Linked DNA regions of Homo sapiens: all the other regions are linked to region 6. Evidence: promoter capture Hi-C in 16 types of primary human blood cells and fetal thymus (Javierre and others, 2016). All regions are on one chromosome and are shown on one strand. The core of a region is centred on a gene start or on the middle of the fragment in contact, and the rest is flanking DNA. Distances in the headings are between cores, read along the strand shown.

Region 1 (3,769 bases), core at 35-2,534, 200 kb before region 6:
TGTGTGCAATACTACGGCTATCACATTCATCATGAAATAACATTTAGTGAAAAAATATATACAAATTTGTTATAGATAAAAGGAAAAAAGACAATAAAGCATTTCATATTAATGGTAGTTATCTTTGTATGGCAGACAATGAGTGGTTTTTTTGTTTTTTTTTTTTTAATTTGTAGAGATGGGGGTCTCGCTATATTGCCCAGGCTCATTTTGAACTCCAGGCCTCAAGTGATCCTCCTGCTTTGGTGTCCCCAAGTGCTGGGATTACAGGTGTGAGCCACCACGCCTGGCATGATTTTTTTTTTTATACTTTTCTGTATTTTCAACTATTTTTTAAGAAAAATTATGGTGAATTTTAAGGATTTCCCATAGTGTATTTAGTTTCCAAATCATATTAAAATGTAAAAAGATATAACACATTTTATCTGATAGAAGACTAGGAGAGAAAATATTGGGACATTTTAAAAGCATGAGGTAGATGAAATAAGGATACAAAATTGAATACTTAGGGTTGTACAATGCTATAGGTGCACAGATAAGTAAAAAATAATAAATGAAAATGATTACTTTTTAGCATGGTAGTGTGAGTTTTTTTTCAAAATCATATTATTATTTTGTTATAATTTTGACGAATACAAGGAAGTGAGTGCTTAAAAAAAAAAAGATAACCATAATTGTGTATTCCCAAAGTAAGAAGCATTAGCAAGTTACAGGATTACATAAGTGTATACACTTCCATTCCTTTCACTATTTCTTGATATTTCTCCTCTTTAATCTTTTTAAAAATTTTCTTGAAAAAGTAAGTTGAAGGTTTGGTTTTCCTAATGAAAAATTAATCTTATTTTAGCTGGAAGCCTGTTTGGCTTACTATTGGTAAGAAAAAGTTAAAATTTTAATCTGTCTGAACATTATAGTACATCCAAATCAATAAAATGTTTTAGTTGTGGTTTTTCATCAGTTTTAATCAGATAATGCCTTACTTCTGTAGATATAGTCTAGTATAGTTCAAATAAAAAGACAGTTGTACATAGATAAGACAAAGCATATTGTGAAAATGTTGGGAAATTTAGGTTATTTTAATGATGGCTGAGAATTTGTGAACTTTTCTCATATGCTATTAAACTGAATTACTAGTAAATTTATGGTACCGAGTATATCAAACAGTGAGGGATTTAAAGTAATTTTGCAATTTGCTAAAATTTCATCCTTAACATACTGGCTAAGAGTGAAAAAGCAAGAAGAGAGAAAAGGAAAAGGATGGAACTAAGACAATTCTATTAGAAGTGGGGAGATGGCAAGAAAATTCTGTCCTCCTTATTTTTCTTTTTCTTTTTTAAAATATTTCATTTTGAGACAGGGACTCACTGTTGTCCAGGCTAGAGTGCAGTGGCTCTGTCACAGCTCACTGTAGCCTCAACCTCCTGGGCTCAAGCAATTCTCCCACCTCAGCCTCCCAAGTAGCTGAGACTACAGTCATGCACTACCATGCCTGCCTAATTTTTTTTTATTTTTTTGTTGAGACAGAGTCTCACTATGTTGCCCAGGCTGTTCTGGAGCCCCTGGCTTCAAATGATCCTCCTGCCTCAGCCTCTCAAAGTACTGGGATTAGAAGTGTGAGCCACTATGCCCAGCGTCCACTAGTCTTTTTAACCATTGTTTTCCATTTCTGAGGTCTTTGACTTAATTTCATAGTTTTTCAACATGTGCTCATTGGGGCATTATTTCTTAAGTTTTTGATTGTTAAATAATGCTTGCCCATTGCTTTTGTCACTTAAATATCTACTTGATTGGGTGTAATATTTCTACAATAACAATTTATTTCAAAATCTTACAGACATTAGTGATTTTTTCTGGTACTTAATGTTCTTATGAGGAAGTACAACACTATAGTTTCTTTTATCCCTACTTCTAGACTTTTTTTAATTGGCTTGGACTACTGGAGAGTATATAGCCTTTTTAACTCAATGTGTCTTGCTGCAAATAATGTTGAATTGTTTTTTCCAGGAATACACTGTTTCTTTTTCTCTAAATATTTAGCTTTTTCTTCATTTCATTGAAATTTACTGTCATCCATGTGCTGGGTTATCATTTTGGAGGATCATCTTTGTCTTTCATATCATCGTCATGCATTTATTAATGCATTCAACAGATATTTATTGATCACTTGCCCTGTGCCAGTGAAACATAACAAAAGCCACTGCCTTTATGGCACTTATATTCTCAAGGTGGTGGTGGTGGGGGGTGATAAGTAATTAACATAACAGATAAGTAAGTTACATGTGAATTTAGAAGATTACAGAGCTGTGAAAAAGTAGAGCAGGATAAGGAAAATTAAACAGGTATTTAGGGAAATTACTCAGTCTATGTCTTTTTCTCTCTACTAAGATTAAACTTTTGTCAGTGTTTCAGTTATAGCTTTTCTGTTTCTTACTGTTTCTAATTTATTAGCTCTATTGGTGTTATTTTAGTCTTCAATATATTTTCTTTAGCTCTACAGTTTCTCTGTCTTTTATTGTCCTCTCATCTGAATAGTAACTTTTAAAATTTAATTAGTAATCTTATTTTGAAGAGTTTGACAGGGAAGAGAGAGAGGAAGAGATGGAAATGATAGTTCAAAGATACACAGGTATACCTCACTGATATTGTGGGTATGGTTCCAGACCACTGCAATAAAGTAAATATCTCAGTAAAGCAAGTCATGTAAGTTTTTTGTTTCCTAGTGTATATAAAAGTTATGTTTATGCTATGCTGTAGTTTTTAAAGTGTGTAATAGCATTATAGCTAAAAAAATGCCTATACCATAATTTTAAAATACTTTATGCTAAAAAATGCTAATGATCATGTGAGCCTTTAGCCAGCAATAATCTTTTTGCTGGTGGAGGGTTTTGTCTCAATGTTAATGGCTGCTGACTGATCAGGTGATGTTTGCTGAAGGCTGGGTGGCCGTAGCAATTTCTTAAGACAAAAATGAAGTTTGCTGCATTGATCGACTCTTCCTTTAATGAATTATTTCTCGGTAACATGTGATGCTGTTTGATAGCATTTACCCACAGTAGAACTTTAAAAATTGGAGTCAGTCCTCTCAAATCCTGCTGCTGTTTTATCAACTAAGTTTATGTAATAATCTAAATTCTTTGTTGTCATTTCAACAATGCTCACGTCGTCACCATGAGTAGATTCTATATAAAGAAACCAGTGCAAGGCCAGGCGCGGTGGCTCACGCTTGTAATCCCAGCACTTTGGGAGGCCGAGGCGGGCGGATCACAAGGTCAGGAGATCAAGACCATCCTGGCTAACATGGTGAAACCCCGTCTCTACTAAAAATACAAAAAATTAGCCGGGCATGGTGGCGGGCGCCTGTAGTCCCAGCTACTCCGGAGGCTGAGGCAGGAGAATGGCATGAACCAGGGAGGCAGAGCTTGCAGTGAGCTGAGATCATACCACTGCACTCCAGCCTGGGCGACAGAGCGAGACTGTCTCAAAAAAAAAAAAAAGAAAAGAAAAGAAACCAGTGCAGTGGCTCATGCCTATAATCCCAGCACTTTGGGAGACTGAAGTAGGCGAATCACCTGAGGTCAGGAGTTCAAGACCAGCCTGGCCAACATGGTGAAACCCCGTCTCTACTAAAAAATAAAAAAGTTAGCCAGTTGTGGTGGCGTGCGCCTGTAATCCCAGCTACTCAGAAGACTGAGGCAGGAGAATCATATGAGCCCAGGAGGTGGAGGTTGCAGTGAGCCAAGATCATGCCACTGCACTCCAGCTTGGGCGA
Region 2 (3,653 bases), core at 1,098-3,597, 240 kb before region 6:
GCCTGGGACATATTTACTCTTTTTTTCCCAAATCCTTTTTTCTTGAGAGATGAGTTCTCACTGTGTCACCCAGGTGGGAGTGCAGTGCTATGATCTTAGCTCATGGCAGTCTCAAACTCCTGGACTCAAGCTAACCTCCTGCCTCTGCTTCCCAAATAGCTGGGACTACACGTATTTGCTAAGCCCAGCTCATTTAATTTTTTTTTTTAAGAGACAGGGTCTCTTTATGGTGCCCAGCCTTCCCAAGTCCTTTTTAAAACAGATTTCATTGGCATTTTATTTTAAAATTGCATGTTTTAAAGCATGAAAGTGTTTTATTTTCCATGAATTTCCTTGTAAATATGGAATTCAACAAAAGCCCACCATGATTATGAATAATACATTCACATCACTCATCAGAGCTCATGTGTGAATATTAGCAAGACTGTGAATGTCTTTTTTATTTAAAGAAGACATGCAGAGTTGGAGAGAAGGCAAAGCATGTTGTATTTAATAAGTACTCGGTTCTAAATTACTTAGAATGACTCTCACTTGTCAAATGCAAGGAATACTACTAAAATGTGTACAAATGTAAACAGATCTTAACTGAGAACACACCTATTGCAAAAGGGAATGACTGCTTCTTAGGGGGTCACTGTCGTTGAGTAGGCGGTAACTCAGTAATCCCAGACCAGTAGGCTAACTCAACATTTAATTACATATGTCAATTAAATTTTAGTTTGGCCTCATGCCAGAATGTTGGTTCAATCTCAAGCTCTTTTCCACATAGTTATTCCTTGTGCTGGTCAAAAGTTTTACAGAAGTCCTTGTAATACCCAGACTCATAGCCCTGGATTCTTTTTTTTTATGTATTTTTTAAATTATACTTTAAGTTCTAGGGTACATGTGCATAACGTGCAGGTTTGTTACATATGTATACATGTGCCATGTTGGTGTGCTGCGCCCGTTAACTTGTCATTTACATTAGGTATATCTACTAATGCTATCCCTCCCCCTTCCCTCCACCCCACGACAGGCCCCGGTGTGTGATGTTCCCCACCCTGTGTCCAAGTGTTCTCATTGTTCAATTCCCACCTATGAGTGGGAACATGCATAGCCCTGGATTCTTGTGTGTAACTTAGAACAGATGTCTTTGGAGGAAGTCAGTTGACCAATGGGCTCTATTGTTATTCCTGGAAAGCCTAGTATGATGCATTATTACTATGGCACTCATCGAGACACAACACAAAGTGGTGGCTCAGCAGCAGCAAAAGGGGTGGGAATAGCAGAAGGACATCATCTTACCTGTCACTGTAGGATTGATATAGAAACTATAAATGCGCTTTTCGAGGATGCAAAGTACCAATTTTTTACAAATACCTTAAAGAAATGGCATATCAGAATTAATGTAGATGGGGAAAGGGAAAAGAAAGAAAAAGAGGTGTGTCTGTGCCTCACCAAGAGAAAGAAGCAGCCACCACATTTCCATGAAAATCTCAAGTCTCTCACTGAGGCAGATGCTATAGATGCTCTACCCAGATCCCCAAAATGCCTTTTACCAGCTGCTGTAGGCACGGCCTGGCTCACACCGTAACTTTCTCTGGAGGAGCGCCCTTGAGCGATTGGAGCTCTTCACCAGGAGTTACCTAAGAGATGGGTAAACACTCCCCCAGCCCAAACTGCCCACACACACCCAGGGCAGCTTAGAGCCAATGACTGACTAGTGCTAGGATGCAAAAAACCCCTCCCTTTGCCTCAAGGTGGGACAGATTCTTTGGTACAATTGACCTTTCAGAGCTCCCCTTGGGATCAGGCCGAGGCTAGACTTCATGTGAAATTACATTCTTACTTAGCTTCTTCCCCTTGCCTGTCCTGCTTCATTCAGTCCCTCACAGGTTTCTCCAGCGAACACTCGCTCAGTAAATCACTTGCATAAGCATCCCTGTCTCAGGCTCTGCTTCTAGGGAACCCGACCTAACACACTCATCATTTCTGCTGGCACTCCACCAAAGCATAATGGACAATAGGTAAACAAAAAATGAACACCTTCAGATAAGCCAAGACAACGAAGCAAAGTATCATGATGGAGAGTGGCTTGGGCGCTGCTTGAGATTGGGTGGTCAGGGACGCCTTCTCTGCCGAGGGGATGTTTGAGCAGAGACATGAGTGAGCAAACAGACAGCCATGTGAAATCAAGGGCTAGAATGCTCCAGGCAGATGAAACAGCAAGAAGGGCTGGCATGGTGGAAGTGAGGTAGGCACAAGAGAGTAATTCAATATGTTTTGGTGGAATGATGTGAACAGACAGATGTTTAATATCCTTGTGCTTATTTGGTTTTGATTTCAGAGATTTCCTCTTTAAATGTACTGACAGTTCAGAAGTTGTTCTGGCTTCTGCCTGTGGAGAAACGCATATAGTAGTTCCACTTCGTGAGAGAACAGGAGAGGCTCTGGGAGTCCTCGATTTTAACATCGGCCAAAATAGGATGTTGTTGTGTCAAGAATATAAAGATCTACAGAAAATGATGAAAGTGGTCCAAGTGGCCTGCTATGAAATACTTGGCGAGTTCTCTGGAGAGATAAAGAAAAAATATATCTTAGGTATCGTTCATGTGGCATCAGTCTAAATTCACAGGTTTAATAGGTTTTGGGGAAATCACAGGGAGTGCAATGAAATATGCACTTTCTAAAATGAATTGTTACAACATACACATCTTTTCATATAAAAGGAATTCCCTTATGCAGTCTTGCGCTGACGAGTAATGTCTACAAATTAAAGGAAACAGCCTGGAATCACATTCTCATGGTTAGATTCCTACAGTTTTAGAGCTGGAAGGGCTCATAAAGGCAAGCTAGAACTAGCATGTATTAAATACCCCCATTATGTGCTTCAGATATTATTTCATTCAATCCTTGCCATAACCCTATGAGATGAATAGTGATACCCCACTTACAGGTGAGGAAAGTAAGCAAATTGCCCCCAGTCACACAGTTAAGAAATGGTGAGGGCTGGATTTGAACCTAGATTTGGGTGCTCTTCCCACTATGTTATACAGCATTAAGTAATCAGAACATCTCGTTTTACAGATAAAGATGCTAAAGACTGCAAAAGTAAAGTGGATTATCTAAGGTCCAATAGCAAGCTGGTGGGAGAGCCAGGATTAGACTTTAGTTTTTGTGATTCCACATCCACTAGGCTACTCTCAGCGCAATGCCAGCTGGAGAGAGGGAGGGAGGAAGAAGGCCTGGAAACCTTTGGCTTCCTAGAATGAAGTGAATAGAATTAGCAGAGTAACACTATGTGGGATTGAGCCAAAAGATTTGTAACTATGTCATAGAGTGGGATAAGAAGAAAGGAGAAATTTCATGTCTCCTAAGTGTTCACTATGTGTAACGCCTGTAACTAAGCACTTTTACATATATCATCTTCTCTAATTCTCACAGCTAACCAAGGAAGTAGGGATTAAGCCCATTTTCACAGAAGAGGAAAAGGATATTCAGAGAGACAATAGACTAATAAGGGTGACAGCGTGTGTTCAAACCAGGGTCTAACTCTAAAACCCAAGTTTTTGCCTTTTCTCAAAGCCTCTTCCTATGAGCTTCACCGGGAGTAATTTCATTGCTTTCTTTTGATTTCATGGCTAAAGAAACTGAGATTGTTTAAAACCAAAGGC
Region 3 (3,815 bases), core at 68-2,567, 190 kb before region 6:
TATCTATCCCATTCCTTCTGAGATAAACACTTAAGTTACCTTCAGTTCCCTGCTACCACAGTGATATTATTTTAAAAAATTCTCATACATGTCCCAGTAGAAACCCTTGTGAAAGTTTTTATGGGGATATATATTCAGGGGTGGGATTTCTAGATCATAGGGTATGTATATAAATTATTGCACTAAGGCCGGGCGCAGTGGCTCACACCTCTCTAATCCCAGCACTTTGGGAGGCCAAGGTGGGCGGATCACGAGGTCAAGAGGTTGAGACCATTCTGGCCAACATGGTGAAACCCCATCTCTACTAAATATACAAAAATTAGCTGGACGTGGTGGCGTGCTCCTGTAGTCCCAGCTACTTGGGAGACTGAGGCAGGAGAATCGCTTGAATCCGGGAGGTGGAGGTTGCAGCGAGCCGAGATCACGCCACTGCACTCCATCCTGGCAACAGAGCGAGACTCCATCTCAAAAAAAATTATTTCACTAAGTACTGATAAATCACTTTCTGAAATGGCTTTATCAGTTTACATTTTCATTGGTGGCCACTGTTGTTTTTCTCATCAGCCGTTTATTTATTTACTTTTTTTTTTGGAGACAATTTTTACAGTACCATCCACAAATAGTGGATACATTTTTTCCTGATTTGTGGGTCATCTTCATTATGTTGTATTTCCGTATATCCGTGAATCTGCTGCTAAGCTTTCCTGTTTTATTTTTATATGTTGCTGTGCCAAAACATAGTTTGTTTTGTTTTAGACAAGGACCCACACTGTTCCTCAGGCTTGAGTGCAGAGGCATGACCATGGCTCACTGCAGCCTCGATGTACGGGGCTCAAGCAATTCCCCCACTTTTGTCTTCCGAGTAGCTAGGACTGCAGGTGCATGCCACCATGCCCAGCTAATTTTTGTATTTTTGTAAAGTTGGAGTTCTGCCGTGTTACTGATGCTGATCTCGAACTCCTAGCCTCAAGCAGTTCTCTTTCCTTGGCCTTTCAAAGTGCTGGGATTACATGTGTGAGCCACTGTGCTTGGCCAAAATATCGTTTTTTAAATTATTGTAGCTTAGTATATCTAGTTGAGTGAGCCCCCTACTCTACACTTCTTTTTCAAACTTGATCAAACTATTTGTGGACTTTTATTGTTATATAGATAAAGTTTGTGAAATTCCTTCAAAATTAAAACTCTTCTGAGATTTGTATTAGAACTGCCTTGGATTTATAAGTTATATTAGTCTTTAAGGAACTACATGTAAGTGTGGTATAGTTCTTCCTTCATTTAGACTTTTTAAATTTTAAATAGAAACAGGGTCTTGCTATCTTGCCCATGCTGGTCTCAAACTCCTGGGCTCAAGTAGTCCTCCCACATTGGCCTCCCAAAGTGTTGGGATTACAGGTGTGAGCCACCACACCCCTCCTAGACTTTATGAGGTAATTTTTTACCCCATTAATGTCCTGTGCCTTATCTGCAGTTTAATTTCTAGATACTTCCTACATTTTGTAGCTATTGTGAGTGGTACCATATTTTCAGGAATATATATATTTTTAAGAGTCTTGCTCTGTCCCCCAGGCTGGAGTACAGTGGCGCAATCTTGGCTCACTGCCACCTCTGCCTCCCGAGTAGCTGGGATTTAGAGGCGTGCAGCACCATGCCCAGCTAATTTTTGTATTTTTAGTAGAGATGGAGTTTTGCCCTGTTGGCCAGGCTGGCCTCAAGCAGTCTGCCCACCTGGGCCTCACAAGGTGTTGGGATTACAGGCGCAAGCCACCACACCTGAGCCTAATCAGATTTACTGTAATAGTTTGTTTAAACCATCTGCTTCATCTCTTCTAGTCCTTATACCTCTTTTTCCTGTTTTACTTTATTAGACAAGTTTTCAGTAGTATGTTGAAAAATGTCCTTAGTGGGCATTCTGACCTGTCTATCCTAAGTGATATCCTAAGCTTCTGAAGTTTTTCCATTAAGTTTGATTTTTGTTATTGGCTTTTGGTATATAGACTTTTTCTTTTTCTTTTCTTTTCTTTTTTTTTTTTTGAGACGGAATTTTGCTCTTATTGCCCAGGATGGAATGCAATGGTGCGATCTCGGCTCACTGCAGCCTCCACCTCCTGGGTTCAAGTGATTATGCTGCCTCAGCCTCCCAAGTAGCTGGGATTACAGGCCTCCGCCACCATGCCCCAGCTAATTTTTGTATTTTTAGTAGACACGGGGTTTCACCATGTTGGCTAGGCTGGTCTTGAACTCCTGACCTCAGGAGATCTGCCCACCTTGGCCTCCTAAAGTGCTGGGATTACAGGTGTGAGCCACTGCACTCGGCCAGACTTTTGTTTGTTTGGTTGGTTGGTTTTGTTTGTTTTGTTTTGTTTTGTTTGAGATGGAGTCTCGCTCTGTTGCCCAGGCTGGAGCGCAGTGGCCAATCTCGGCTCACTGCAAGCCCCGCCTCCCAGGTTCACGCCATTCTCCTGCCTCAGCCTCCTGAGTAGCTGGGACTACAGGCGCCCGCCACCACGCCCGGCTAATTTTTTATATTTTTAGTAGAGACGGGGTTTCACCATGTTAGCCATGATGGTCTCAATCTCCTGATGTCGTGATCTGCCCGCCTCAGCCTCCTAAAGTGCTGGGATTACAGGTGTGAGCCAGTGCGCCCAGCCCCGGCCAGACTTTTTTAAGTTAAGGAACTCTTCTATTCATCACTGACCAACTTTTTTTTTTTTTTTGAGACGGAGTTTCGCTCTTGTCCCCCTGGCTGGAGTGCAATGGCGCAACCTCAGCTCCCTGCAACCTCTGCTTCCCGGGTTCAAGCAATTCTCCTGTCCCAGCCTCCCGAGTAGCTGGGATTGCAGGCATGTGCTACCATGCCCAGCTAATTTTTTGTATTTTTGGTAGAGTTGGGGTTTCCCCATGTTGGCCAGGCTCATCTTGCGAACTCCTGACCTCAAGTAATCAGCCCGCCTCAGCCTCCCAAAGTGTTAGGATTACAGGCGTGAGTCACTGTGCCTAGCCTGACAATTTTTTATAAATCACAAATAGGTACTAAATGCCTTCCTGAATTTATTGAGCTAGTTAAGTCATTTTTCTCCTGTGGTTCATTAATATGGTTTATTAGATTGATACATTTTTAAATGTTAAACCATTCTTGAATTTCTGGCTTAAATCCTTTTGAGCAGGATGTATTATTTTTAATATGCTAGTAAACTCAATTCACTAAAACTTGATTTAGGGTTTTCAAACATCTATGTCTATAAGTGGGAAAGGCTTTGTTTATTGTCTAAAAATGTCTGTAGGATTTTAATTTATGGAGGTGACAAATGACATATTGAGACTAATGCCCTTTAAAAGAAGATTATTGTTATGTACATTTACTGACAGGAGAAGACATGCCATTTCATTCAGGGCTACATAGGGAAGAACCAGTTTGGATCAGGAAAAGCCTGGTTCAGAGTCTTTATTGTATTTTTCATGGGAAAGGAAGGGAAACAGTTTAGGATTGGCTAGTTTGAATCTTGTCAGTTGCCTCTGGGCTGTAGCGGTGATCACCAGTTTTTTTGTATCTGGCCCTGGGCAATGAAGGCAGAGGACTATTGCTTCCTGGCTTGTAGGGGCCAGAGGAGATGGTTCTAAGTTTGGGCTGTGGATTGGCTGATTTACAGTTTTTGGAATATGTATCTGTTCTGCCCAGGTTTTCAGATTTAATTGTTCACGATAGTGTTTTTTAAATCTTTCATCTACTGTTACTTGCATCTCTTTACTTTTCTTGATTAATCTTGCCAAAAGTTTGTCTATCTTATAAAATCTTTTGAAATAACTAGCCTTTGATT
Region 4 (3,875 bases), core at 88-2,587, 220 kb before region 6:
CAAGTGATTGGCCCCCTCAGCCTCCCAAAGTGCTGAGATTACAGGCGTGAGCCAGTGCACCCAGCCAATTCCCTCTTAATCTAAATATGCTTAAGCGACCAGATGCCCTGAACTTCTAGACATTCTCAATCTTCTAACTCAGAAGACCATTTGAAGGTAATTTAAGAATTGTGCAGGCCAGGCACAGTGGCTCATGCCTGTAATCCCAGCACTTTGGGAGGCTGAGGCGGGCGGATCAACCGAGGTCAGGAGTTGGAGACCAGCCTGACCAACATGGAGAAAACCCGTCTCTGCTAAAAATACAAAATTAGCCGGGCATGGTGGCACATGCCTGTAATACCAGCTACTCGGGAGGCTGAGGCAGGAGAATCACTTGAACCCGGGAGGTGGAGGTTGCGGTGAGCTGAGATCGCGCCATTGCACTCCAGCCTGGGCAACAAGAGCGAAACTCCGTCTTGAAAAAAAAAAAAAAAAAAAAGAATTGTGCATTCCTCTCATATATGAGGTTTTATGCAATGCCAGTCCCAAAAACCTCACCCCACATCATCAATGCCATATTCTTACTCTCCTTCCACAGAATCTTGTTACAAAGACCTCTCTCAGGATCAGAAAAAGTAACTATTGGATACTAGACTTCATACCTGGGTGATGAAATAATCTGTACAGTGAACCCCCATGACACAAGTTTACCTATATAACAAACTTGCACATGTACCCCGAACCTAAAAGTTAAACAAATTTTTTAAAGCAAAAATAAAAATTTTAATTAAAAAACCTCTCTCAACTGACAAGATCAGTGAATTAAATATTACCTATTTCACCTGTTTTCTGGTTATAAATATAGCTCACCACTTTGCAAGAAGGGCCATTGTGAACCATCTTTGGTCTAGAATGCTGTCCAGTTCCATAATCTTTTTCTTGGTCAAATTTGTTAAATTTATAAATAAATAAATATTGCCTAATTTCTCTGCCCTTAAACTTGGTTACTACCCTCAGTAGGTGTACCATTTCCTAGTCATTAACCGTATTTAACCTCTCCTCCATCTACTGTCTGAGCTTAGACTGTCCTGCCCAGGGACTTCAAGTGATGAGGCAACCCTGGGTGGCCATTACGTGACTGACTCTGTAGCTACAGTTGTTTGAATTAGGGGTGACCCCTTACCAAAGTGAGACCAATTTGTGAAATGGCCTAATATAAAAAGCACCCAAACCATGGACAAGCCAAACTGGGAAACAGCAATGGGAGCAGTGTCTAAAAGGAAATTAAGGCCGGGTGCGGTGGCTCACACCTGTAATGCCAGCAATTTGGGAGGCCGAGGCGGGTGGATCACCAGGTCAGGAGTTTGAGACCAGCCTGGCCAATATGGTGAAACCCTGTCTCTACTAAATATACAAAAGTAGCCGGGCGTGGTGGTGCATGCCTGTAATCCCAGCTACTCGGGAGGCTGAGGCAGAAGAATTGCTTGAACCTGGGAGGTAGAGGTTGCAGTGAGCTGAGATCACACCACTGCACTCCGGTCTGGGCAACAGAATGATACTCCATCTCCAAAAATAAATAAGTAAATAAATAAATAAAAAATAATAAAAATTTAAAAAATAAAAGGAAATTAAGTGCTTAGAGAGGCCAAAGGTGTCATGACAGGCCTTGAAGGAAGTTGGTGCATACTGCCTTCAAGATGCTACAAGTTAGCAGAAACTATAGGTAGAGAAAAGGTGTGAGTAGTTGGTTGGGGAAAAGATTGGGTGCAAAGAGAAGAAACTGAAAGTAGTGAAGTTAACATTAGTAACACTAGTGTCAAAAGATTAAGTGGAAGATCCAAGGGTTTCGGTAATGGATCCAATTTAGTCAACTGTTCTGTTCTGGAAGTTTAAGATGATTGGAAATTTCTGTTGTATAACATCCATGAGGATGGTAGTGATGATACTATCTTTTACTGGTTTACCCAGCTTGTCCTTACAGCATTTCTTGTTAAAGTTTCAAAAGTTGGGTTCTAAAATGTTAAGAGGCTTCTCTGTGCCCTTACTCACTGCTGCAGTTACCACCACTGCTGCAGACTCTACAACACTGCATCTGAGAAACTGTCCCTTCTAGCCTAGGGAAAATCCCATGACTGCTTCATTAAAATGTCCCAAAGGCAATGGAAGAATACAGAATATAACAATTGAAAAACTCAAATTATGTAGGATATTGAGTTCTCCCCTGGGTAATTATGGGTAACTAATTCCCCATTCAGTCTATTCAAGCAAGAGGCAGGCAGCCCTGGCAGGGGGCTTTATTTTTTACTCTTTATTTTAAGCAAAGTAACACATACTCATAAAAAGTCATTCTGTTATACAAGGTCTGTTGAGACCACAGCATTTCCCAGCCCCACCTTACCTTTATTTTCCTTGCTTCTGAGTCAGCTACTTTCAATTCTTTTTGCTCAGGAGTTGGTAAACAGCCCATTGGCCAAATCTGGCCAGCTGCCTGGTATGGTAAATAAAGTTTTATTGGAATAGCTATGCCCATGTCTGTGGCTGCTTTCACATTACCAGGGCAGAGTTGAGTAGTGGCCACAAAAACCATATGGGTCACATGGACTAAACTATTTGCTATCTGACTGCAGAAAAAGTTTGCCAACCCCTATTTTAGCTGTGGTTTTGACATTTACCTCTATATTGTTAAATTACATGCTTGTGTGGCTACTTTTGTTTTTCCGATTTAGGCAATATCTATTAATCTCCCAGTATACAATACAAAGATTTAGCTCCTTCCTCAGCATATATACACACACGCTTCCCATCCATTCTTCCCAATATTATTACATGGTAATGTAATCAGAATAGATCAATATTCAGTGTTTATATTATCATGATTATGTATGCTATTTACAGCTTAGCCATGTTGTAAATTACAATTATTTTCCATTCCTGTACATCCTTTTGCTTTCCCTAGAGTTAATGTCAAAAGAAAACTGGAGTGCTATAATATCACACAAGTAGATTTCAGAGCAAAGAATATTATAATGATAAAGGTTATTTGATAATGAAAAGTCAATTAAGAAGACATTACAATCTTAAACCTAATAACAGAGCTTCAAAATACATGAAGCTAAAACTGATAGAACTTCAAGTCTATAGACATAAAATATTTACCTAGGACTGGGGGATTTGGAGGAAAATAGGAGTGACTAATAGGTATATGGTTTCTTTGTTGGGTATTAAAAATAATCTAAAATTGGCCAGGTGCAGTGGCTCACACCTGTGATCCCAGCACTTTGGGAGGCTGAGGCGGGTGGATCACCTGAGGTCAGGCGTTTGAGACCACCCTGGCCAACATGGAGAAACCCTGTCTCTACTAAAAATACAAAAATTAGCTGGGTGTTGTGGCGGGCGCCTGTAATCCCAGCTATTTAGGAGGCTGAGGCAGGAGAATCGCTTGAACCCAGGAGGCTTGAACCCAGGAGCTTGCAGTGAGCTGAGATGCACCATAGCTCTCCAGCCTGGGAAACAGAGCAAGGCTCTGTCTCAAAAAACAAAAACAAAACTAAAATTGATTGTGGTGAGGGTAGTACAACTATGACTATACTAAACATACAACTTGACTATACTAAACCCCACTGAATTGCACACTTTAAATGAATGAATTGTATGATATGTGAATTATCGCTCAATAAAACTTTTTAAAAATATTTTTAAAAATATTATACTAGATAGAAATCTGAATCTATACAAAGACATGGAAACACCAGAAATGATAAATATGTGGGTAAACGTATTTTTCCTATTCAAAAAAATCTTTTTAAAAACCAAGTTACTTTTTATAGCAAAAATAATTTATTGTGCATTTATGACATAGTGACAATAGCACAAAACTAGGAGATAAAATGGAAGTA
Region 5 (3,970 bases), core at 446-2,945, 170 kb before region 6:
TTTGTTTATAAGTTGATTTTTTTTCCTTCGAGATAAAGTGCCTTATAGGAAGTAAATTTTGTCTCCCTAAATTTAAAACTAACGATTTTATTAGAAGGCACCATTGGCTGAGCATGGTGGCTTATGCCTATAATCCCAGCACTTTAGGAGGCAAAGGCGGGAGGATTGCTTGAGCCCAGGGGTTTGAGACCAGCCTGGGCAACAAAGCAAGACCCTGTCTCTACAAAAAAATAAAAAAATTAGCTGGATGTGGTGACACACATCTGTAGTTCCAGCTACTCCAGATGCTGAGGCAGGAGGATTGCTTGAGCCCGGGAGGTCGAGGCTGCAGTGTGCTGTCTTCATGTCACTGCGCTCCAGCCTGGACAACAGAGCAAGACCCTGTCTCAAAAAAAAAGAGAAAAGAAGCCAGTTTTAAGGAATATTCTCCTGTGTTACACTGCAAACTGGTCCTCAGGCATAGAATTAAAATAATTGTCTACCTACTAATTTTGAAATGAGTCAATGACTTTATTGTGTGGTTTGGTCACATTCAGCCTTAATCTTTTTTTAAACAGCTGTTTTTCCCTAGATAACTTGTAAGCTAATATATTTTGTGGCAAGAACGAAATGTTTTTGCGATATTTATACTAAGCAAAATACAAAATACCCTTGAAAGTAATGCTGGTAGAAAAGAGCCAATCTCAAAACGATATACTGCATAATTCAATTTATTTAACATTCATCAAACACAGAGATAATGGTTGCCAGGGATTAGAGATGGAGGAGGAAGGATGAGTATGGCTTATAAAGGAGTAGTGCAAGAAGTATTGTGGTGACTAGTACAATTAAGTATCTTGATTACGGTGATAGTTACTTGAAGCTCTGTGTTATAAAATGGCATAGGACTATGCACATACATGCACAGATGTGTATGTGTAAAAATGGTGAAATCTGAATAAGCAGTGTGGGTGTACCAGTGTCAGTTCCCTGGTGTTGATATTGTACTCTATGCAACTTACTAACATTGGGAGAGGTTAGGTAAAGGGTACACAGTACTTAACTGTACATTTCTTTGAAGTTTAAAAATACGCTTTTTAAAACAAGCACTTCCCCTTCTCACCCCAAACCAGGACAATTATTAGAGACAAACGTCTGTTCATTTGGTGTGTCCTTGTATCTTGCCATTTGATTATAGCAGCACAGCAGAGGATACCCTCAAAGGAGAATACTCCCTAGTCTACTCATGTTTTGGGGGCAGTGTATTTTTGTTTATGAATTAGTTCCTACTAAAGCCACTATCAGTTCTAGAAAACCCATTTCTAGTTACGCTATAGCTCCCATGGCTAATTAAGGATTCAAATGTATGCATCCTCCATTTTCCTGTTTATGGACATACTGAATATAAAACCTTAAAGAATCAACACAAAAGAAAACATATACAGCCTTTTAAATATTCAGCAGAATAGATTTTTCTAATTCAGTGGATGGAAATATATTAATGTCACTTCAAATAAATACCAACCTTACATTTTATTAAGCACACTGATAAATATACTATAAAGAGGAATATTGTTTGCATGCTTTTCTGGTGAATAATCCAAGAAAAAAAAAAGTACAGCTACTGTGTTCTCATAACTTAGTTTTGATTTGTTTAAATATAAGCATTTCTTCAGCCATATATTTTTAAACAGGAACATGATAATAACAAAAATGGTAGCTAACCTTTGTGAGGTAGGTACTAATATATAGAGGAGGAAACTGAAACAGGAAGAAATTAACATACCTAGAATAACAAGCTAGCAAGAGAGAGAACAGTTGTAGACTGTTTCTGAGTCTACACTTGTGAACGTTATTTTGTAAGTTCTCCTCATGCTGTACAGTATAGGAACACTGAAGTTAGAGATTAATAATCTTTGCAGTTATTATATAAGTTTTGTTTTATTCACAGGGCACTTATGAAATCTATTTTTTCTCTTGCTGAGTTCAATAAGATCAACCCTTCCCTGATTTATGGCAAGAGGATCTGCTTTTGTGATATTTACCTTCTTGAGTATCCTTTCTTTTTATGAAAACCAGACTAAATTAAAAGTTCTCTTAAAATTTGTGTTAGTATTTGAAAAAATTTTATACAAGTTTATGGGATACCTGTGAGATTTTGTTATATGAATGCAATGCTTAGTGATCAAGTCAGTCAGCAATTAGTGTCTGTTACCCAAGTACAATACGTTTTTGTTAAGGGTAGTCACCCTGGCCAGGTGCAGTGGCTCATGCCTATAATCCTAGCACTTTGGGAGGCCGAGGTAGGCAGATCACTTGAGGCCAGGAGTTCGAGACCAGCCTAGCCATCATGGCAGAACCCCATCTCTACTAAAAATACAAAAAAAATTAGCCACGCATGGTGGCGCACACTTGTAATCCCAGCTACTCGGGAGGCTGAGGCAGGAGAATCGCTTGAACCCGGGAGGCAGAGGTTTCAGTGAGCTGAAATCACACCACTGCACTCCAACCTGGGCAGCAGAGCAAGACTCCATCTCAAACAAACAAAAAGGATAGTCACCTTACTCTTCTGTCAAACACTGAATATATTCCTTCTATCTTACTGTATGTTTGTACCCTTTAACCAGCTTCTCTTTATCCTCCCCATTTCCCTCACTTACCCTTCCCAGTCTGTTATCTACCTTTTCACTCTACCTCCATGTGATCAAAGTTTTTATTTTAGCTCCCACATGGAAGTGAGAACATACGATATTTATCTTTTTGTGTGTGGCTTATTTTACTTAAGGTAATGACCTCCAGTTCCTTCCATGTTGCTGTAAATGATACGATTTCATTCTTTTTATGGCCAAATACTATTCTGTTGTGTATGTATACTGTATTAGTATTTTAAGGATACCACTAAAAACGTAAAAAGACTTGACCTTTAAAAACATAAGATCTGGCCGGGCACGGTGGCTCACATCTGTAATCCCAGCACTTTGGGAGGCCAAGGCAGGTGGATCATGAGGTCAGGAGTTCGAGACCAGCCTGACCAACATGATGAAACCTTGTCTCTACTAAAAATACAAAAATTAGCTGGGCATGGTGGTGTGCGCCTGTATTCCCAGCTACTCAGGAGGCTGAGGCAGGAGAATCTCTTGAACCCGGGAGGCGGAGGTTGCAGTGAGCCGAGATCGCACCACTGCACTCCAGTCTGGGCAACAGAGTGAGACTCTGTCTTAAAAAAAAAAATAAGATCTTACTGATCTGCTTTTAATTGTAGTAGTTTTTTTTCTCACACATAAATATATGTATTTAAGATATTTGTTAAAAAGAAAAATATTTTCCCATTCATGATATGACTACAATGTATCTGAAGGAATCTGTTTTTCATTGATACTATGGAGTAGATGTAGAAACAGTACTTAAAATATCAAATACTAAATAGACTCGTTTTTCCTTTAATGTTAATAACATTCTGTGTTTTCATTTTATGTGACTTTCCACTCTAATGGTCAACAGTACATGTACAGTTATAATAATACTTATGTTACTCTAGTAGATGGAATCATACCTCAGCTTTACGTTTTCAGAGGAATCATCTCAGTTGGTGAATTTCCAATAATAGCAACATAGGACACCGTTCAATATTATAAAGTTTAAATCAGATTTATGCTATAGGCTATTTGTACCTTTCCATGCCTTTTAATTCTGTGTTGTCTTGAGACATTTCAGTGTATATCCAGTACTGGTGTTTAAAGGAAAGTTATTAAAGTTTGGAATAAGAGTACCTGAATTGGAATCTTGCTTTGCCATTCACCAGCTGTTTGTCCTTAAATTCTCTCAGGTAATCTGTAGCCTTAACAATTAAAGGTGACTTCTATATGTCATTTAGCTTACTTATCCATTATTTCTGAAGTTGTTAGGATTATTGTAACTACTGTTGTTGTTACTATTTTTAGATTAATATATTTCCTTTCTGGATTTCCATTTAAAATATATTTAAAGAATC
Region 6 (3,419 bases), core at 291-2,790:
TCTTGTTCTGAAAGTTTTTCTTGGGTCATTTTTGTAAAGATGTTCTCTGATAATAGAGAGTTTTTGAGACTACTCCAAATCCCATAGATTCAAATGGTGTGTACGTAGAAAAGCCTCAATTGAAACATGGCCTCTAGTTTAAACCATGTTAATCTTGTCTTTCTCCCACTATTCTCTCTCTCTCTTCCCCTTGACCCAATGGACTAAAAATAATAAATAATAAAGGTGTCCTTTCTCCCTTCTTGCTTTTGCTTCAACTCTCCCTCTCCCTAAGATATTCTCCATTTCCATCTGGGAAAAAAACATATATTCATTACTTCCTTTCAAGAGTACTACTATAAATATAGCGAACCACATACGGAAAACTTTCTGCGCAACAGGGACTGTGCTAAACACTTTACATACATCATTTCAGTCACAATTAAGCCTCCTAACAACCCTCCTGAGGTCGTTTCTATAGATTTAAAGAGACTATGTAATTTGCCTGAGATCCCACAGACAGTAAATGTCAAGGTCGGGATTTGAACCCAGACTCCCAAGACCATGCTCTTAACCACCCTACTCTCAACCACCCTACTACCCAATCTACTGCCTAGATTAATATTCTTTTCCTTTAAGAAGCTGCTGTTAGGCTGGGTGCAGTGGCTCATGCCTGTAATCCCAGCACTTTAGGAGCTGAGGCAGGTGGATTACCTGAGGTCAGGAGTTTGAGACTAGCCTGACCAACATAGTGAAACCCCATCTCTACTAAAAATGCAAAAAAAAAAAAAAAAAATTAGCCAGGCATGGTGGCGAGCGCCTGTAATCCCAGCTACTCGGGAGGCTGAGGCAGGAGAATTGCTTGAACCTGGGAGGTGGAGGTTGCAGTGAGCCAAGATTATGCCACTGCACTCCAGCCTGGGCGACAGAGTGAGGCTCGGTCTCAAAAAATAAAAATAAAAAATAAAAAAATAAAAAAAAGCTGCTGTTAATCTTTTCCAGTCCCTGGCCACTGGGAGTTCTCTCCCCTTAACACCAGTATTAATTTACAAGAGCTGAAATATACCTATACCTACTCTACTCCTCCCCTGTCCCAGGCGTGCCCTGACAGGAGTAAGTTTCATTCATGCCAGGCTCACCCTTTCTGGCAGACAAGCCTGCATCAATCTTTTCGTAAGATGCAATTACTACTAATATTGATTCTTTTGTAATTTTAAATATTTGCCAAAAAGATTTCTATCACAGTGTTGTAACAGTGATTACTGCAGAATGTGGTCAATAGTAGAGTTTTCTCAAGCGCTCTGCACTACAAGTACTCAATAAAAACTGAGAGTGCAGGCTTCTTGCCAGACCTCACCCAGCCCTATTAAGGGGACAAATCTATGTCTTCTCTTTCCCTCCACTCCACCGAGACAGCAACTTTTCAAAATGTATTCCCCTCACTTGGCTTGTTTTTAATCTGTATGACTCTCTACTTTCTATATAAGACAGTCTTACCACTTACCTCTTGAGCTCTGAGAAGCTGACTTCCTTGGCCAACTGTTCCTCTGCCTGAAAACCCTAAATGCTTTCCCTGTTACAATCCTTTATAATACTTGAATTTGAACGCTTTATGACAGCAGGGTCAAATAAATAAGATAACTTGGGTTCAAAGTCTGTTTTTCTTTATGGAGTCTTAGAGAAGATAGTAATTGGGAAAGACATCTTCTTAAGATCTAAGTTTCTATGTCTACCTCGGTTACTAGGTGGGGCCGGATATTACTAACAGGGATGTGTTGTTCCAAGAAAGCTTGAACTTGTGCAAAAATCTGTAGCGCATCTCACTGAATATTGTCATATTTAAGTAAGATGGCTGCGTTTTGATCATCTAGCCTGGGGATTGTGAAGGGACGAGTCCAAAGAGAAGTTTGACTTTAACAGAGGTCAAAACATTGGAAGATTCTACACAACTTAAATAATGCTGGAAAAGTCTTAGTTACCACTAGTAACCCAAGCCCAGTGCATAAGCTGTACCAAGCCAGGCATGGCAGGGAGCCGTTTTTTTGTTGTTGTTGTTTGTTTTGTTTTTTGAGGCAGGGTTTCACTCTGTCACCCAGATTGGAATGCAATGGCACAATTGTGGCTGACTGAACCTCTGCTCCCAGCCTCCCAAGGAGCTAGGACTACTGGCGTGAGTCACCATGCCCAGCTAAACTTTGTTAATATATATATTTTTGGTAGAGATGAAATTTCGCCATGTTTCCTAGGCTGGTCTCTAACTCCCGGCCTTAAGCAATCTGCCCACCTTGGCCTAGGGAACAGTTTTATCCTCTTGAGGCTCTCACCTGATTGGGAGATCCTTGCATTACACTATGTTTATGGTATTGTTAACGATGCAAATTTTATCTGCCAAGTACTATTGTTCCCATTTACACAAAAATATAACAGAAGAATATTTATAGTTATCTACACATTTTAACACACTGCTGAAGCACACCAGCAATCTGCCTCTTACTAGCTATGTAACTTTGAAAAGTTATTTAACCTCCATGAGCCTCAGGATCTTCATCAATACAATGGAAATAGTAATAGTACCCTCCCTACGGAGTCACTGTGAGGATTAAATGAAATGAAGCATGTGAATCTGCCGCACAGTAAGCTCTTGGTAAACAGTAGCTCTTATTACTATTATTATTAATATAGGCTGAGCAGGGCATCCTAAATCAACACAACCTCACTATAGCATTGTTCAAGCAAAAATCAGAGCTAAGAGCAGCTCCTGTTGGCTGGGTTGCAAGCACCACCCAAACAGGTTTTGAGTTTGCCTCTCCAGGGATCCAAGATTGTCATTTTAAAATGAATTTAGCAATGGAGTGATGTTTTGGTTCTTGGTGCCTCCAAAATAGACCCTGAGACAGAGCTTTGAGTGCCAATAGTTTATTTAAAGGTGATCTCGGCCGGGCACGGTGAGTGGCTCACTCCCTTAATCCCAGCACTTTGGGAGGCCGAGGAGGGTGGATCATTTGAGGTCAGGAGTTCGAGACCAGCCTGGCCAATGTGATGAAACCCCGTCTCTACTAAAAATAGAAAAATTAGCCAGGCATGGTGGCGGGCGCCTGTAATCCCAGCTACTTGGGAGGCTGAGGTGGAAGAATCCCTTGAGGCTGGGAGGTGGAGGTTGTGTTGAGCCAAGATTGGACCACTGCATTCCAATCTGGGCGAGAGAGTGAGACCCTTCCTCAAAAAAAAAAAAAAAAAAAAGTGATCTCAGGAAGCATAGTAAGGAAGTAAGATAGGGAAGGGAGGAAACTAGTAAAGAATGTGTTAAAGATTACTACCGTGAGCAACTATATCCCTGGAGCTTTGGACAAGTTGTATTCTGTGCAGCATACCTCAGAATCAACTACTGATAGGGAAGGAAGCAACTTCTCTCCATCTCCGGCTGAGGGACACTCTCAAGG
Region 7 (3,588 bases), core at 1,048-3,547, 150 kb after region 6:
CGTGATCCGCCCGCCTCTGCCTCCCAAAGTGCTGGGATTACAGGTGTGACCCACCGCGCCTGGCCGCTAGAAAACATTTTAAAATTATGTAGAAGAGGCTACTGATATCTTTATTACTAGTCATTAGCCTGTGGTTTTTTGAAGCAGCATGCTATAATATTACAGCGGCTCATTACTGACAACCTACTCTGTGCCAGCTGCTGTAAGCATATGATTACCAATACATAAGCAAACCCTGAAGGTAGGGGTTTAAAAAACAAGAAGCTGAAGTTCATAGGTTAAGTAGATTGTTGATAAATCATAGAGTCAGTAAGTGGCTGTGCCGAGATTCGAACTGGCATTTGGTCTCTGGGCAAATATGCTCCACTATGTTAACTACGCTTTCTATTTCTGGTTGAAAAGCATATTGAAATAATGTTTTGTATTCTTTTTGAAAGAGAGATTCTTATACCATTACCTCTGGTACTTCTGCCCTTTTATTTTAACCTTCACTTCACCATGAATGAGAATACTCGTATCTGTGTGTGGGTGTCCAGACTGTGGCTTCTGTCACGCAACCCTTAGATGCCAGACTGCTAAACCAATTTCTCTACTTGCCTGTTTGCTTCTGCTATTAAAACTTATGTACTTATTTCTATCATACTCATATTCGACCTTGTTAGTAGCACATTGTTTATTGTTAGTTTTAGCCCTCCAAATTACTTTCAGTAAGTTTTTTTCTTTTTTTTAGATGGAGTCTCGCACTGTCGCCCAGGCTGGAGTGCAGTGGCTCAATCTCCACTCACTGCAAACTCTGCCTTCCAGTGCCTTCCAGGTTCACGCCATTCTCCTGCCTCAGCCTCCTGAGTAGCTGGGACTACAGGCGCCCACCACCACGCCTGGCTAATTTTTTGTATTTTTAATAGAGACAGGGTTTCACCGTGTTAGCTAGGATGGTCTTGATCTCCTGACCTCATGATCCGCCTGCCTCGGCCTCCCAAAGTGCTGGGATTACAGGCGTGAGCCACTGCGCCTGGCCTCAGTAAGTTTTTTAAAGGCGGTTTTTGGCCAGGTGCGATGTCTCATGCCTGTAATTCTAGCACTTTTGGAGGCCCAGGCAGGAGGGTCACTGGAGTTTAGGAGTTCGAGAGCAGCCTGGGCAACATTGTGAGAAAAAACAGAAAAGAAAAAAAGAAAGAAAAAGGCAATTTTTGTGGTAACTTTTTTTCTTTATGTTCAATTGAGAAGTCATTTTGGTCCGGGCGTGGTGGCTCACACCTGTAATCCTAGCACTTTGGGAGGCCAAGGTGGGTGGATCACTTGAGGTCAGGAGTTAAAGACCACCCTGGCCAACATGGTGAAACCCCGTCTTTACTAAAAATACAAAAATTAGCCAGGCATGGTGGTGTGTGCCTGTAGTCCCAGCTACTTGGGAGGTAGTTGAGGCATGAGAGTTGCTTGAACCCAGGAGGTGGAGTATGCAGTGAGCCAAGGTCATGCCACTGCACTCCAGCCTGGGTGACAGAACGAGACTCCATCTCAAAAAAAAAAAGAAAAAAAAAGGTAAGTCATTTTGCTATTATGAAAAGAAGTTCATAAGCCTAATAAAGCTTTGGAACATAAAAAGCAAAATCCCTTTCAAAAGAATAATGGCTTCTTTCTTATAACATTAACTGGTAAGTTGATAATGCTGGTCATAAACCATATTTTTAGTTCCTTTGTGATTTGTATTATCTTCTTGTTTTTCTCTGAATTGCAGAATTTTAGTTATTGCTATACAAATAGTTTCAGGAAGGATAGAACAACATTTGTTTTCTAGCCATCTTTGGAGTAAAGCTGCGAAGTTGCATCTACCATTACTATTTCCCTTCTTGCCCCCTCTGAAGTTTATAAGTGACTAATCTGCTTTGCTGGGCAAGTCCTTGGTTTCCTTCTTTTAAGACTTTTATTTTCCTTTTTTTGAGACATAGTTTTGTTCTTGTTACCCAGGCTGGAGTACGATGGCGCAATCTTGGCTCACCGCAACCTCTGCCTCCTGCGTTCAAGCGATTCTCCTGCCTCAGCCTTCCGAGTAGCTGGGATTACAGGCGTGCGCCACCACACCTGGCTAATTTTCTATTTTTAGTAGAGATAGGGTTTCTCCATGTTGATCAGGCTGGTCTCAAACTCCCGACCTCAGGTGATCCGCCCACCTTGGCCTCCCAAAGTGGTGGGATTACAGGCGTGCACCACCGTGCCCAGCCAACACTTTTCTTTATGGGGGTAACAAGATCAGTATATGATCATTTTCATAGTTTGTTTTCTTTAGAATGGTGCTGTGATTTTTGTGTCTACTTTTTATGTCTAATTATTTGTTGTTATAATTTTGTTAAAGATCTCAGGAAACAGGCTCGACAGCTGGAAAATGAACTTGACCTGAAACTAGTTTCCTTCAGCAAACTATGTACAAGTTACAGTCATAGCAGTACCCGAGATGGAAGACGCGACAGGTATAGGTACTACCAGATTCTGTCTCCTATGCCTTAACTGTGTTTTTAAAGCATTAAAAAATAAACTAAAATATATAACTTCTGTAAGTTGGTCTATTGGTGAATTTTTGGTGTTTTGTTTTGCCATTCATTGTTTTATTTTTTAGTGACTTATTAAAATTCTTCTGAATTCTCGAGACTAGCATTTATTTGGAATCCTTAGGCAAAGATTGTTACAGTGTCAGAAGAAACCTGCTAGAACTTCAGAATAAGTTTGTATCAAAAATATAAGTGTCTAATTCAGCCAGTGTAGGGAAAAGGTGGCTGATTTGCCCGTGTGGCATGTATTTCTTGTGTTTTTCAATTGCTAAATGGACCTGTGGATCTACCCAGGTGCCAGGTATACATACTGCTTTTCTGGTGTTTATTGTATTAGAGGGTATCTAATGCACTGTGTATCCTTGTTATTAATTATCAAAGCTATCTTTAATTTTGGTACTTTTTTGGGAAACTAGTGTATTACCATATTAAATGTATGGAAAATACATTCTTATCTTTGAAGCTTATGCTCTCTGTAAGTCATCCACTTGTTTCAAGAAAATATTGGGAGTAGCCAGGCACAGTAGATGACGCGTGTAATCCCGGGACTTTAGGAGGTTGAGGCGGATGGATCACTTGAGCCCAGGAGTTCAAGACTAGCCTGGGCAACATGGTGAAACCCTGTCTCTAAAAAAAATAGAAATAAAAAAAAATTTTTTAATTAGGCAATATTTAAGACAGTTACAAAGAATAATATCATGAACCCCCATGACCCTATCTCCCATTTTTAAAAAATGATAATTACTCATTCCACTGAAGCCCCTTATGGCACCCCACTTTCTCCCACCCCATAATCCACATATATTCTTACTGCATGTTTATATTCCTGAGCAATTCATAGTATTCTATTATGTTATATAGTATATATATAATATAGTTATTCTACAACTTTTTCTTTAACATTTTTGAGATTCAGCTATGGATTCATTTAACTCTGGTATATTCATTTGTAATTCATATGTAGTATTTTATGACTATCACAGTTTAACCATTTGATGATGGCCATTGTTTCTAATTTTTGCTAATTAATAATAATTTTGAT

What was found. The method cuts DNA at HindIII sites, captures the fragments that hold promoters and counts their contacts. A CHiCAGO score of 5 or more calls a contact.
Region 1: a contact is called between a fragment that was not itself captured here and the fragment with the promoter of TMIGD1 in region 6, in 11 of 17 cell types (naive CD4 T cells, naive CD8 T cells, total CD4 T cells and 8 more). The highest score is 20.4, in naive CD4 T cells.
Region 2: a contact is called between a fragment that was not itself captured here and the fragment with the promoter of TMIGD1 in region 6, in 6 of 17 cell types (M2 macrophages, activated CD4 T cells, total CD8 T cells and 3 more). The highest score is 8.0, in M2 macrophages.
Region 3: a fragment that was not itself captured here is called in contact with the fragment with the promoter of TMIGD1 in region 6 in 7 of 17 cell types (M1 macrophages, M2 macrophages, activated CD4 T cells and 4 more); the score reaches 7.4 in M1 macrophages.
Region 4: a fragment that was not itself captured here is called in contact with the fragment with the promoter of TMIGD1 in region 6 in 13 of 17 cell types (activated CD4 T cells, naive CD4 T cells, megakaryocytes and 10 more); the score reaches 15.4 in activated CD4 T cells.
Region 5: a fragment that was not itself captured here is called in contact with the fragment with the promoter of TMIGD1 in region 6 in 2 of 17 cell types (M1 macrophages and M2 macrophages); the score reaches 5.8 in M1 macrophages.
Region 7: a contact is called between a fragment that was not itself captured here and the fragment with the promoter of TMIGD1 in region 6, in 1 of 17 cell types (M2 macrophages). The highest score is 5.1, in M2 macrophages.

The regions. Positions count from the first base shown.
Region 1 is chr17:30,128,766-30,132,534 of GRCh38, forward strand. All of the region lies in intron 2 of NSRP1 (nuclear speckle splicing regulatory protein 1), which reads left to right. Among named protein-coding and RNA genes, the nearest start is that of MIR3184, 13 kb to the left of the region's middle. The HindIII fragment of the contact is 7,104 bases long and covers 1-3,769 here.
Region 2 is chr17:30,088,095-30,091,747 of GRCh38, forward strand. EFCAB5 (EF-hand calcium binding domain 5) reads left to right here. Exons shown (of 23, transcript NM_198529.4): 20 at 2,327-2,580. Among named protein-coding and RNA genes, the nearest start is that of NSRP1, 27 kb to the right of the region's middle. The HindIII fragment of the contact is 6,877 bases long and covers 1-3,653 here.
Region 3 is chr17:30,145,115-30,148,929 of GRCh38, forward strand. The region is part of intron 2 of NSRP1 (nuclear speckle splicing regulatory protein 1); the gene reads left to right. Among named protein-coding and RNA genes, the nearest start is that of MIR3184, 30 kb to the left of the region's middle. The HindIII fragment of the contact is 1,241 bases long and covers 698-1,938 here.
Region 4 is chr17:30,110,940-30,114,814 of GRCh38, forward strand. No RefSeq gene overlaps it. Among named protein-coding and RNA genes, the nearest start is that of NSRP1, 3.9 kb to the right of the region's middle. The HindIII fragment of the contact is 5,096 bases long and covers 1-3,875 here.
Region 5 is chr17:30,164,410-30,168,379 of GRCh38, forward strand. All of the region lies in intron 2 of NSRP1 (nuclear speckle splicing regulatory protein 1), which reads left to right. Among named protein-coding and RNA genes, the nearest start is that of MIR3184, 49 kb to the left of the region's middle. The HindIII fragment of the contact is 5,370 bases long and covers 1-3,970 here.
Region 6 is chr17:30,332,517-30,335,935 of GRCh38, forward strand. It overlaps TMIGD1 (transmembrane and immunoglobulin domain containing 1), which reads right to left and starts at 1,541. Exons shown (of 7, transcript NM_206832.3): 1 at 1,484-1,541. The HindIII fragment of the contact is 5,890 bases long and covers 1-1,766 here.
Region 7 is chr17:30,478,790-30,482,377 of GRCh38, forward strand. GOSR1 (golgi SNAP receptor complex member 1) reads left to right here. Exons shown (of 9, transcript NM_001007025.2): 2 at 2,354-2,468. Among named protein-coding and RNA genes, the nearest start is that of GOSR1, 3.2 kb to the left of the region's middle. The HindIII fragment of the contact is 1,420 bases long and covers 1,588-3,007 here.